Regions from separate parts of the Homo sapiens genome. Here region 2 is linked to region 1. Evidence: promoter capture Hi-C in human tissues and cell types (Jung and others, 2019). All regions are on one chromosome and are shown on one strand. The core of a region is centred on a gene start or on the middle of the fragment in contact, and the rest is flanking DNA. Distances in the headings are between cores, read along the strand shown. Region 1 holds the start of HSPG2 (heparan sulfate proteoglycan 2). Region 2 overlaps RAP1GAP (RAP1 GTPase activating protein).

Region 1 (6,938 bases), core at 4,411-6,910:
ATACCCCAAGTAGTCTGAGGGTGCAGAGCCCACACCTCTGGCCTCCAAGTGGCCTCTGAATCATTGCTCCAGATCTTTCCATAGCCTGGGCAGGCCCTCCTGCCCTCCCTCCTGAGCCTCTCACCCCAAGGCCAGGCAGCCCTTGAAGCTCTGCAGACTCACCCTAAACCTTGAGCCCCCAGGGAACAGCCAGAAAAAAACAGCGCAGGCTCCACACAGGACAACCAGGAGGGTGTTCTTCCCCTTCCCCCACTAGCAGCATGGCAGGGGCAGGGGCCCCTGACCTCCCACACTGGGCAGGGCCAGCCTGGCCCACTCAGGCCTAAAAGTCCCTGGATAAATTCAACTGCCTGTAGAGTCCCAGGAAATATCTGATGAGAACATTAATGAATTAACAAACCTAAAAATGACCACCCTAGAGTTCCTAGGCTTCCCCTCCAGGCACAGGCGTCCCTAGGAGACCCCACGGACACTGAGGCATACCCAACCTAAGAGCTTCTGTCCCCGAGCCAATCCCTGATATTCCTTGCCTGAGGTAGCCCCTGTACTACTTGGGACCAGAGTTCTTAATCAACATCTGTGACAAGTTGTAGCAATATCTACTGACTGCCCACGACAAGCACATGGGGCAGTACGTGGCGTGATTAGGAGAGCTTCGTCTGGATTCAAAACTTGGCTTGCAGCATCTCTGAGTGTGTGGATATGTAAGTCACTGGGCAAGTTACGTAACCTCTCAGTGCCTCAATGTCCTCTGCTTAGAGAATGGGGATCAGGCTAGTAGCTACAGCTTAAAACATTCGACAAAGATATTCACTAAGCACTTACTACCTGCCAGGTGCTAAGCATACAGCAGTGAACAAAAACAAATGAGGTCCTGCTCTCGTAGAACTTAAACTGAGCAGGAGGAAGCAGATAAACACATAAACAAATACAGACAAATACAGGCCAGACAATTGTGAGAACAAAAATAAAGCAGTTTAAGGAGACAGCCATTATGGGAAGAGTGGTAAGGACCAGAAAGAGGGAGAGGGTCATATGGATATTACGGGGACAAATGTCCCAGGCAGAAGGAACAGCAGACGCAGAGACCCTAAGGTGGGAGTGTGTTTCACATGCTCAAGAAACAAAGCCTTGGTCAGGCGAGGTGGCCCATGCCTATAATCCTAGCACTTCAGAAGGCTGAGGTGGGAGGATAGCTTGAGTTAAAGAGTTTGGGACCAGCCTGGGCAATACAACAAGATCCCATCTCTATTTGTTTTAAATTTTTATATTCATTAGAAAAGAAAAGGCTGGGTGCAGTGGCTCACGCCTATAATCCTAGCACTTTGGGAGGCCGAAGGGGGTGGATCATTTGAGCCCAGGAGTTCGAGACCTGCCTGGGGGAACATGGCAAAACCCTGTCTCTATAAAAAATACAAAAATTAGCCAGGTGTAGAGGAGGGTGTCTGTAGTCCCAGCTACTCAGGGGGCTGAGGTGGGAGGATCACCTGAGCGTGGGAGGTTGAGGCAGCGGTGAGCTGTGATTGTGCCACTGCACTCCAGCCTGGGTGACAGTGTGAGACCCTGTCTCAAAAAAAAAAAAAAGAAAAGAAAAAGAAACAAAGACTGGTATAGCTGGAGGAGTTTGAGAGGAGCAGGTGGCAGGAGGCCGGGTGTTGCAGGGCCTCGTAGGCTATATTAAGTCAGGGGCTGGGACCTAATTCTGAGCACCGCAGGGAGGTGGTGAGCAGGAAACACAGGTGAATGGGAGGATTCACTGAGAAACTCAGAGCAGACAGTGGGTACTGGGTAAGTCTGAAGTACCCGTATTACTGTGTCATCATCCAGCCTGGCACCCCAAGAGCTCCTTCCCCTCCACTTTGCTCACCCGTCTTCCGGGCCCTGAACCCAGTCACCTCCTGCCACCTTCTTTCCACCGTCTCCCGGGCAGGGCTTCAGACCCACAGATCCTAACTTGTCTGCGCTCAGCCTGAGAGCAGGCCCGGGCCAAGCCAGGCAGGGGCCACAACTCCCCAGACAGGGGGAAATGGGCCTAAGGGATGGGGGGGTGGTCCATCTCTGCCCCTTCCAGCTTCTACCCTGCAGACAGACCTGCAGCCTGCCCTCCTTCCCTCCGGGAATGTCCAGGGCACACTCAAAACCCCATCCTGTGCCGGCTGCAGGTACGGAACAAGTAGGCTAGTGTCAGGTGACAGAGCAGCTGGCTGCGTGGAGGAGGGCTGAGGGACCGCCAGGAAGGGGAGGCTCCTGCAGTTCAGCTGGCAGCCTCCCCAGTGAGGAAATCCAGCTGAGGCAGGAAACAGGTATCTCAGCGACTTCCCTCCTAGGCCCTGGAAAACACCTTAATCACCACCGAGGCTCCCTCAAGACGCCTGTCCCCTGCAGGGCCGCCCTAAAGGGGTCAGCAGGCCAAGGCCTGCCGAGTCACCCAGGCCCAGCCCCCTCCTCCAGCAAGCCTCCTCACCTCCCAACAGCTGAAATTACACCCACACTTAATCACAGATCAGCTTCCTGTGGTCCTGTCCCCCGTCCCGGGGAAGCCTGGAGCTCCCTAAGGCCCATCTCACCCTGCTGCTGTGCCCAACCCTTCCCCATAAGCCACTGGCTCCGGACCAAACTGAAGGGCAGATGAGAGCAAGGGTAGCAGGCAAAGAGGGTCCAAGGTGTGCTGGGAGCCTGGGCTAGGAATTGATCTCATTTTTGACTTGCAACAAACTCCTCAACCCCATTGTACAGATTTGGAAACTAAGGCTCAGAGAGAGGAACTCGCCCCAGATCACACAGCCAGAAACCGCAGCCCAGAGACTCATACTTGGGTCTGTAAGACTTCAGAGACAGGCCAGGCATGATGGCTTATGCCTGTCATCCCAACACTTTAGGAGACCGAGGCGAGAGGATCGCTTGAGGCCAGGAGTTTGAGACCAGCCTGGGCAACAAAGTGTGATGCCCTCTTTTTTTTTTTTTGAGACAGAGTCTTGCTCTGTCGCCCAGGCTGGAGTGCAGTGGCGCGATCTCGGCTCACTGCAAGCTCCGCCTCCCGGGTTAACGCCATTCTCCTGCCTCAGCCTCCGGAGTAGCTGGGACTACAGGTACGTGCCACCATGCCTGGCTAACTTTTTGCATTTTTAGTAGAGACAGGGTTTCACTATGCTGGCCAGGCTGATCTTGAACTCCTGACCTCATGATCCGCTCGCCTCGGCCTCCCAAAGTCCTGGGATTACTGGCGTGTGCCACCGCGCCTGGCCCCGAAAAACTTTTTATTGTTTGTTTGTTTTGAGGCGGAGTCTCACTCTGTCACCCAGGCTGGAGTGCAATGGTGTGGTCTCAGCTCACTGCAACCTCCGCCTCCTGGGTTCAAGCGATTCTCCTGCCTCAGCCTCCCGAGTAGTTGGGATTACAAGCATGCGCCACCACACCCGTCTAATTTTTGTATTTTCAGTACAGATGGGGTTTCACTATGTTGGCCAGGCTGGTCTCAAACTCCTGACCTCGTGATCCGCCCACCGTGGCCTCCCAAAGTGCTGGGATTACAGGCATGAGCCACCGCGCCTGGCCTGAAAAACTTTTTAAAAAGAATTTTATAAAGAGACTTCAGGGGCCAAGCTCTTTCCAGCCCACCACCAGCAGCCTGGGGTGGGACAGCGACCCTCCATGTGTTGCTGAGAAGGCTCTCTAATCCCACAGGATTGGAGCTGCCTGTTTATTTGTCTAAATTACCGCCCACCAGCCTGTGAGTGCTGGGAAGGCACAGACAGGGCCTGTCCTTGCTGGTCCAACCCACCCCAGCCCCTAGCACCACACGAGGTTCACTGGTTCACTGGCACACAGTAGGTGCATGGCAAATATCTGCCCAAAGAATGAACCTCTGTACTCCCAGTGACTGCCATGGAATGTCGCTCAGTGATGATCTGTTGAATGAACAAGTGAATGAGATGATCTGCCACGGTCCAGGAATGTCTGTGGAAATTCCTCATGCACACAGCAAACAACTCCACCCACCGCCATCCTACCGCACCCGGGCATGGAGGAGCCCCTCATCGGGGGCAGAGCTGGGGGAAGGTCAGGAAAGACTGTTGGGCCTCGGAAAACATCCCACGTGCTAGGTTGGTGCGTTGGGAAAAGTAAAAGTCAGTGCCAGGAGTGCAAGTTCAGGTCAAGACTAGGGAGCTACTGGATGGCCCTGCTGAATATTTTGGGGTGAGAGGCTGAAACAGGAGGACGACAGAGGAGGCTGCCCAGAGTGGGGATGGGGGAGGAGAAGTGCTGGGTGGGTGGGGCAAGAGCAGTGAGGAGCCAGGTCTGGGTGGGGGCTTGACGAGTGACTCAGGAGGGTAGAGGTGCGATGAAGCCAGGAAGGTGAGGCCAGGCAGGCAGTTCCTGGGTAAACACCAGCCTGGTTAGAAAAGTCCCTCTCTTGGCTCAGAGAACAGGGAGGCAGGTATGGGGACTGCCTAGGAGCACCTCGGAGAGAGTGGGGGTGGCTCTGTGGCTCCCCACGGTAGGCTCGGCTCCCCAGATGTGCCCCCACCCACATCTGCCACTAGCTCCCTGCCCACCGACCCCACCCAGTCCTCCTCAAGTTCACTCAGGTCCTCAGGGCCTCTGCTGGCCAAGTGCCTTCTAAGCCTCGGGATTCCTGACCGTAGAATTCCCTTTTCCTCCACCTAAGCTCAGAGTAGGGGACTAGACTGCAAGGGCAGGCCTCTCCCTGCCTCTTGGAGACCTGGGAAGAGGAAAGCTGGGGAACTCGGGTCCCCCAAGGGTGCACTGCATCCCCGCACCACGCACTTTGCAGCTCATTCCACGCAGTCCAGCAACGCCCTGCAGCTATGCATTTTGAGGCCGTGCATTTTGAGTTCCCTTGACCCACGTGGGGCTGGCCTCAGAGAGGTTAACTAGCGTGCCCCAGGTCACACAGTTACTCAGTGAAAGGCAGGGATTGATTCAACTCTTCGGCTGTATGACTCCAAGGCCCGTGGGTGTTCCACACAAGCTTCAGTTCTGTCCCAAAAGTTTTGCTTGTGCCTACCTGGGTCCAAGCTCCCCAAGGTGATAGACGGTGTGGTAAAGTTTCAGCGAGACTCATAGGGTCCCCATCACCACTGAGTGGCCGTTCTGCCAAGCTGGCGCAGAAGGGTTCCCTCGTCCTGCCAAGTTCCCACCCTGCTCAAAGTTTCCCCTCCTGGTCCCCAGGAATGGTAGGCCGGACCATGCCCAGCGAGACTCCAGCACTCGGCAACGTGGCCGAGAGACCCACGGGCTCCCACACGGGCCAGCCCCGCCCCCAGCCCCACGAAGGGTCCTGACTGGTGGCCCCCCTGGATTAGCCCCATGCCGCAGGGTGGCGCCGGCCCGGGGTCCCCGGCGGGCGCCGCCGTCCCGGGCCAGAGTCCCCGCCGCGCAGCCTTGGGCGCCCCAGCCAAGTTGGCGGGAGGCGGCGAGCGGGACCGGGGCGCCCCTAGCCCCTCCGCCCCCGCCCCCCGCCCCTCTGCCCCGCACACTCACCGCCAGCAGCCGCCCGTGCAGCAGCAGCGCCAGCAGCAGCGCGCCCGCCGCCCGCCACCCCATGGCCCGGCCCGCGCCGCTCTCTCGCTCGCTCGCTCCGCGCCGCCCGCTCCGCGCCGCCCGCAGCCGCCCGCTCGCCGGCCAGCTCGGGACAGCGCGGCCCTCTCCCCACCGCCCCCTTTCCTCCCCGCCCGCCCCGCCCCCGCAGCGCCGGCCCCGCCCCCGAACCGCCCCTCCCCGGAGCGCCAGGCCCCGCCCACGGACCGCCCCCGGGCCGCGGGCTCTGCTCGCCCCAGCCGGCCGCGCAGCCTACTAGGCCTTTGTCTGGGCCCCCAGCCCCCTCCGCGCGGGCCGCGGCCCGGCCCGGCTCCCCGCCAAACCCGGCCTGGAGTATGGGATGGGACGGGGCGGGGGACCGGGGGCCCGGGCCCGGGCATGGGATGGGGCCGCCGGGCCAGGCGCTCTCGCCTCCCCGATCCCCGGCTCCCCCGCTTCCCCGCGCGCGCCGCCGACTTCCACGCCCCTGCACGCCCCGCACGGCCGACTCCACTCGCGCAGCTTTTGAAGATCCCGGGATCTCCTTCCCACGCTCACACGCACGCAGCTGCCGCTCCGCGCCACACGTGCACGCCAACTTCCACACCCAAGAACACCTTCACACCATAACTTTACTGCACGAACACACTTGTGCGCTACCCGGGAACACTTTCACACTCTGGACCCAACTCTGAAGTACCAACAATCCTCACCGGCTCACATGCACACTTAACTCGCTTCCAAACTCTCACCTCCACCAGGGACACAGGAGACAGCCCTCACACCACACTCAGCCCCTCACTCACGCATACATCCCAACAAGTCACGGAGCGGGAGGACGCCTTTTCACATAGATTCCTCGCAGGCACGCACATTTCACACACAGGCCCACATCATTGCCTACATGCTTACCAGCTTGTTTTTTTTTTTTTTTTTTTTTTTGAGAAGGAGTCTCGCTCTGTCCCCAGGCTGGAGTGCGGTGGTGGGATCTTGGCTCACTGCAACCTCCGCCTCCGGGTTCAAGCAATTCTCCGGCCTCAGCCTCCTGAATAGCTGGGATTACAGGCGTGCCACCACGCCTGGCTAATTTTTGTATTTTTAATAGAGATGGGGTTTTTACCATGTTGGCCAGGCTGGTCTCGAACTCCTGACCTTGTGATCTGCCCGCCTTGCCCTCCCAAAGTGATGGGATTACAGGCATTGAGCCACCGCACCCAGCCTCAGCCTGTATCTTTTACCTGTTCTCACCCACTAATCACAGTGCCTCATAGTGGGCACTGGGTACTGAACTGAGCTGCCCACCCCACCTGCACCATTTTCCATGTAAATCACTCACACACCAACTTTGAGTCACATAAATCACAGCCCCAGAGCCAGAACCACACCAACTCACACAC
Region 2 (6,811 bases), core at 3,542-6,041, 300 kb before region 1:
GAGGCAATGGATGTTAAAATGTGCATATTCTTTGGTCCAGCAACCCCATTTCTAGGCATTTATTCTCCAGAAATATAACACCAATGCATAAAGATATATGAACAAAAAAGTCATGAAGCAGGGTTTGCAACCGCAAACATCTGGACGCCACTTCAATGTCCATTACAAGGAGATTAGTTAAATATATCAAACCATGGAATACTATACAGCAATGACAAAGAAGGTCTTTAGTCTTGATGGAAAAGGGGGTTTGAGGCATATTGTTAAGTGAATAAAGCGGGCTGCACACAACAAAAATCTCATTTGTAAAAATTTAAAATTACATGTCAAAGTTTACATGGCTGGCCGGGAGTGGTGGTTCACGCCTGTAATCCTAGCACTTTGGGAGGCCAAGGCAGGCGGATCTCTTGGAGCCAGGAGTTCAAGACCATCCTGGGCAACATAGCAAAACCCCATCTCTACCAAAAAAAAAAAAAAAAAAAACCACAAAAATTAGCCGGGTATGGTGGTGCATGCCTGTAGTCCCAGCTACTCAGGAGGCTGAGGTGGGAAGACTGATTGAGCCTGAGAGGTTGAGGCTTCAGTGGGCCAACATTGCACCACTGTACTTCAGCCTGAGTAACAGAGCAAGATCCTATTAAAAAAAAAAAAAAGAAAAGAAAAAAAGGCCGGGCATGGTGGCTCACACCTATAATCTCAGCACTTTGGGAGGCCAAGTCAGGTGGATCACTTGAGGTCAGGAGTTTCAGACCAGCCTGACCAACATGGTGAAACCCCATCTCTATTAAAAATACAAAATCAGCCGGACATGGTAGCGCATGCTTGTAATCCCAGCTACTCAAGAGGCTGAGGCAGGAGAATCGCTTGAACCCAGGAGGCAGAGGTTGCAGTGAACCAAGATTGCACCACTGCACTCCAGCCTGGGCGACAGAGCAAGACTCTGTCTCAAAAAAAAAAAAAAAAGAGAGAGAGAAAAGGGGCTTGCTGCGTATGGGACCCTGAGGCCCAAAAGCCCTCAGAATTTTGAGTGGGATGAAGCCCAGTTGGGCTGTGTCTGTCTGTCCGTCCTCTTTCTCTTTAAACAAAAACAAAAACAAAAAGAAAGTTTACATGGCTTATCTCTGAGAAGCAGGACCACTAGGAACTTCTGCTTTCTGTGGCAAATACTTTTCTGCACGGTTTGGATGTTTATAATGAACACTTAGTATTTGTGTAATCAGAAAAAAATTAAAGATTTTAGAGAGCTGAGCACTCACTATGACTCAGCTCCCTGAGCACCTGACTGCTTTACCCTTTTCCATCACCTTGAGAGGGAGGTATGACTCACCCCTTATTCCAAGGGGGAGAAGCTGACACGAAAAGAGACTAAACACCATGACCAATGTCCCTGAGCCAGGCGTCACAGAGCTGGGTTGCACCCCCATTCTGGCTGGCTCCCAAGCCCACACTCTTTCCCCTACATTAGGCATTAGACAACCTGCTCCGAGGGTCAGGGAAGAGCAGAGGCAGCACAGAAGTGGCCCAGGCAGCTGGGCCCAGGGATGTGCCCTGTGACTTCAGCTGTCACGTCCTGCAAGCCAGGCCAGCCGGGTTAGCATGTGTGGGGACAGGGCTGTCTACTTCATTTGTAAATGCAAATGTAGGCTCTGCTCCTAGCGCGGGCTCCATGCCCTGAGCTGCCCCAGGCTGGCAGGTGCCCAGCCCCACCCCTGGCACTACCCCCAGAAGCCTCAGGGTCACCAGGCAGGTGGGCACGTCCCAGCCCAGGCCCTTCCCTGGAGCTCTAAATAACTTTCTGTGTTGATCAACCTGTTTGTGGATGGATTTGGCATTGAAGGTCACTTGTCACCTTCTCAGTGACAGCCTGGAAAGGTGACAGTCACACCTGAGTGTGTCTGAGTCTGGATGGGCCAGAGAACAAGACCTGAAAGTCAAACGGAACTGAGTTCAAATCCTGCCTGTGCCAAGCTCTAGCTGTGTGGCCTAGGGAGAGTCCCTTCACCTCTCTCAGCCTCTGTTTCCTCGGCTATAAAATGGTGTTGAGAATTTCTCCCTGCAGGGCTGCTGAGAGCATTAAATGAGAGAATGCACGTGAAAGTACGTCCTAAGCTAGAAGCCACCTTGCACGTGTAGAGAAGAGTTATGACCTCACTCCTGTGGGGGCAGGCGGGGGGCACAGGCACATCTGTGCGGATGTGGAGTGAGCAAGGATCCACCCTGGCTGGACCCCAGGGCCCTGCCGCACAGACTCAGCCGGTGGGCGGGGCAGCGTCTGACACTTTTCCTGGGAGTCGGCACCGGGTGTTCCGCAGCTCTGCCTGGTGGTGCGAGAGGGTGTGTGTGACTCTGTGGGTGAGAATGGAGATGGGAGGCCCCGGCAGGAGCGTGAATGGGTGTGGGAGGGAAAGCGCTTGTGTCGCATGTTTGGATCTGATCACACCACCCACCTGCCTAGAAGGCCCCAATGGCTTCCCGCCGCAAGCAGGATCCAGACGCCCGCCTCACGTGGCCCACGAGGCCCTGCGTGTCTGCTCCCCATCCCCGGCCCCCCTCCCACCCGCCCACTGTCTCTGGCCTCATCCAGGGCTTCTTTCCTCCTTCTCCAGACTCCTTTCCGCTCCTCAAACCCGAGGTGCTCCTTCCCACCTCCAGGCCACTGCACACGCTGTGCCCCCTGCCTGTTACCCCCTTCCCGTCCGCTTGGATCACATTTCAGGTGCTATGTCTGTATTCAGTCTTCCAGAGCCCCCTCCCCAGACCAGGAGAAGCTGCTCCGAACCTGACCAGCTTTCCCAGAAGCCTGTCTTGGGCCTTCATGGATTTACCTGTTGCGTTTGCACATTTCATGGTGTGACCATTAAGCCACTGTCAGTCTCTCCTGCTAGAAATGGGGTTTCTTCAGGTCATGCCTGGGTCTGTTTGGGTCTGATCTGCTGCATGAATGAATGTGTATGTCTGTGCCTCTATGTTCATGATGAAGCTGTCTCTACAAGGGTCAAGTCTATGAGTGTGAGTAGGGAAATATGTGTGTGTGTACATGTAATGGGTCATCTCAAAGAACCTTTCCTCAGCCTGCAGGCAGCTGGGCTGGGAAAGGCCAAGGCAACCTGGGGCCAGTGCCTAGGCTGGCTGGGGTGAGGGGAGAACAAGCAGCAGTTCCCTTACCCCCGACTAAAATAGGTCCAGGGTCTTTGCGCCAGGTAGATCCAGTCAGGTGGGCTCCAGGCTGGAGGCCTGACTCTGCCCTGCAGTGAGCTCCACCCCTGCCTGCTCCTACAGGTTGGAGCCCAGCCTCCTGCCTGCACAGCCCAGCTCACTTGAGACTCAAGCCAAGCCTGGTCTTCCATGGCTGCCCACACTCCCCACCACCCCACCGGGCCTGTCTTGTGGGCAGCAGTTATTTTTTGTGTGTGTGTGGGATGGAGCCTTGCTCTGTTGGCCAGGCTGGAGTGCGGTGGTGTGATCTCGGCTCATGGTAATCTCCACCTCCTGGGTTCAAGCGATTCTCCTGCCTCAGTCTCCTGAGTAGCTGGGATCACAGGCATGCACCACTACGCCCAGCTAATTTTTTTTTTTTTTTTTGTATTTTTAGTAAAGATAGGGTTTCACCATGTTGGCCAGGCTGGTCTCAAACTCCTGACCTCTGGTGATCCACCCACCTCGGCCTCCCCAGAGTGCTAGGATTACAGGCATGAGCCACCACACCTGACTGGGGAGCAGTTCCTGATCTGAAAGAAGTGGGCTTCCAGCCTCTCTGCCTTCTCAGCCACCTCCACCTGTTGCCAGGAGATGATCTGGAATGTTCCAGCTTTGGGGCGGGGGAAGGAGTCCTATTCCTGCCCCCAATCCTTTACATTTTCTCTACCCTCTGCCTGGACTACTCTTCCCACAGCCAGCTCCTTCCCATTCAGGCCTCAGAGAGGCCCCTCCCTGATACCCTTGGCAAAGCCAGGCCTTGCACCCACCCCATCCGTACTACACATTACCCATCTGAAGCTACCTTAGCTGTCTGTCTCCTGCACTGGAGGATAACATGCGTGAAGCAAGGACCGTGTCTGTCAGGTTCACTGCTGCATCCCCAGTTCTTAGACTAGTACCTGGCATGTGGTAGGAACTCCGTAAGTATTTGTTGAATTAACGAGTGGCTAATGGAAGCCCTGAAAGATCCCAGGAGGTGAACATTGCCCGTTTGCAGGCATGGAAACTGAGGTTCAGAGAGGTTAAGTCTCTAGCCCAATGTCACACAGCAAACAGCTGGACCAGGTCAAACTTAGGGACAAGCTAACTCCACTAGAACCCCAGCACATCAGAGTGTATCACAGCCAACCTTCCCATTTCATAGGTATGAAAATGAGCCTCTGAGAGGGAGGGTGATGTTTCTCTAGGTCACTTGGGTCCGAGGCATGTGTTTCTTCCCTCCTGCAGCATGGGGTCAGAAACAGCTGCATTGTTACACCGGCCGGCCCTTTAAAAGCACCTCCTCACTGCCTCTCACTCACCGTGAGGCAGGGGCCATGAACACCCCCACTGCACAAAGGAATGAGCCAAGGCTCAGCAAGGTGACGGACTCCTCAAGGTCACTGGCCAGGACCTGGCACCAGGCCCATCAGACTCCAAAGCCAGTGTTCTCAGGGCCAGTGCCTAAGGCCAGTGCCCACGGCTGGGGTGTACAGTCACGTGTAGGCAGTCAGGTCACCCCCTGGCAGGCAGCAAGCTTCCAGAGGACAGAGTCTACACACCAAGCGCAATTCCGCACCCACTGCAGGCGCAGCAGGTAACCATGACCGCGATGATGGCAGTAACCGCAATAGCTGGCATCGACGGAGTACGTGCTCTGTGCCAGGCCCTGGTTTCAGGCCTTGGCACCCATTATCTCATTTAATCCCCCCACCAATCTTCCAGGTAGTACTTTTATTGCCCTCATGTTACAGGTGAGGAAACTGAGATCCAGAGAAGTCACCCAGCCAGCTGGTGGCCGAGACAGCATCTGCGGTCCCAGCCCAGACTCTGGCTCCAGGGCTTCCACAGCCCTGCACTAAGAGCACAGTCAGGGCCTCCCTGAGCTGCGGCTGACTCAGTCTCACACAGCAGCTCCTTGGAGCAGGGAGGAGGATGGGCGACTGGCACCCTAGCAGGCCTCTTCCCATGGTGGCTGGGGGGTTCAGAGCCTTCCAGCGTAGCCCACAGAAGTCCCAGCAGGGCCTACAGGGACATGATCTGGTGGCTGTCTCTCTTCCCTTCACCTGTCAGGCCCAACTCAGTCTTGAATCCAGCATGTGCCACCACACACTTTTCTCCTCCACATTGCTGACCTGCCACCTCCTGTCCCTGGAACATTCTCGCACAGTGCACCTCCCTTCCCCACTACACACACACACACACACACACACACACACACACACACACTGCCACTTGGCCCACTTCAACTTTTGAGTCACCTCCTCCAGGAAGCCCTCCTTGATTCCCAGATGTGGGCAGGAGTCCCTTCTCTGAGATCTCAGCAACCCTCACATCTCCCTAGTCAGCACATGTCATTCCCATCAAACCACCTCTTTCCTTATGACCCTCTCTAGACTCTGAACCCAGAAGAAGTGGCCTCATCTATTTTCTCCACCAAGTCCCCAACGCCCAGCACAGGGTTTGGCCCTAGGAGGGTGTCCCCACACTAAATGCTTATTGAATTAGTTTGCTGAATGAATGAATTTTGGGGAAGATCCTGAACTCAGAAGGCCTTTCCAGGATCTGGGCTATCAGAAAATCCCCTCCGAGGCTGGGTGTGGTGGCTCACGCCTGTAATCCTAGCACCTTGGGAGGCCGAGACGGGCGGATCATGAGGTCAGGAGTTCGAGACCAGCCTGACCAACATGGTGAAACCCCATCTCTACTAAAAATACAAAAATTAGCTGGGCATGGTGGCACACGCCTGTAATCCCAGCTACTCAGGAGGCTGAGGCAGGAGAATGCTTGAACCTGGCAGGTGGAGGTTGCAGTGAGCCAAGATCGTGCCACTGCACTCCAGCCTGGGCGAGACAGCAAGACTCCGTCTCAAAAAAAAAAAAAAAAAAAGAAAAAAGAAAAAAAGAAAATCCCCTCCTTAGCCATCTACTCACCCCCTGTGGCCACGACAGTGCCTAAAATTCTATCACTAGAGAATCTCTCTTTGGATGAATGAGTCTTTCCTCTCAAAATGCAAATGCTTAGTTAGAAGGGAGAACATCCCCCTGCGCATACACTCTGCACTCATTTCATTCGAAGCAATACTGTTTCCATTGTTATGGACAATCTGGGGTTCAGAGAGGCAGAGTAGTTGGGGTAAGGCCACACAGCAAGTAAGTGGAAGTTGAACTGGGTATTTGAACTCAGGTCTACCTAACAGAACTCAAATATTCCCATGCATCTCAGACAAATAGACCAGAGTTTGAGCATCACCAGGAGATAGGGGCACACAGGGCCAACCAGACCAGGGACCTCAGGGCGGCAAGAGTCCTCTCTTCATGATGCTGAGGATAGACGTGGGATAGCAGAGTTGTGCACAAGTGAGATGGGGACCCATTTCTCAAGATCACACAGCCAAACAGTGGCAGTCCCAGAGCCACAACGCATGTGGAGGGGATTTTTCTCTTGTCTCCTGAAGCTATAGAGGATCCTTCCTGGAAGCAGGGCGTCTCTCTGGCACTAGGCTCATCCCTGCCTCAGAGCCTTTGCACCTGCTGCTCCCTCTGTCTGGACACCCTGCCAGCTCCCCCATGGCCAGCTCCTCTCATCCTTCAGGTTTTGGTTCAAACACCCCCTCTTCAGAAAGGCTTTCCAG

Evidence for each region. The method cuts DNA at HindIII sites, captures the fragments that hold promoters and counts their contacts. A contact is called where the count stands out against the background at its distance.
Region 2: a fragment that was not itself captured here is called in contact with the fragment with the promoter of HSPG2 in region 1 in 1 of the 25 tissues and cell types used here (dorsolateral prefrontal cortex).

What each region holds. Positions count from the first base shown.
Region 1 is chr1:21,931,650-21,938,587 of GRCh38, forward strand. It overlaps HSPG2 (heparan sulfate proteoglycan 2), which reads right to left and starts at 5,661. Exons shown (of 97, transcript NM_005529.7): 1 at 5,506-5,661. The coding sequence starts at 5,568. RefSeq lists enhancers at 1-656, 4,111-4,952 and a silencer at 5,700-6,049. The HindIII fragment of the contact is 19,449 bases long and covers 1-6,938 here.
Region 2 is chr1:21,637,510-21,644,320 of GRCh38, forward strand. All of the region lies in intron 2 of RAP1GAP (RAP1 GTPase activating protein), which reads right to left. Among named protein-coding and RNA genes, the nearest start is that of RAP1GAP, 28 kb to the right of the region's middle. RefSeq lists an enhancer at 2,133-2,962. The HindIII fragment of the contact is 7,278 bases long and covers 1,153-6,811 here.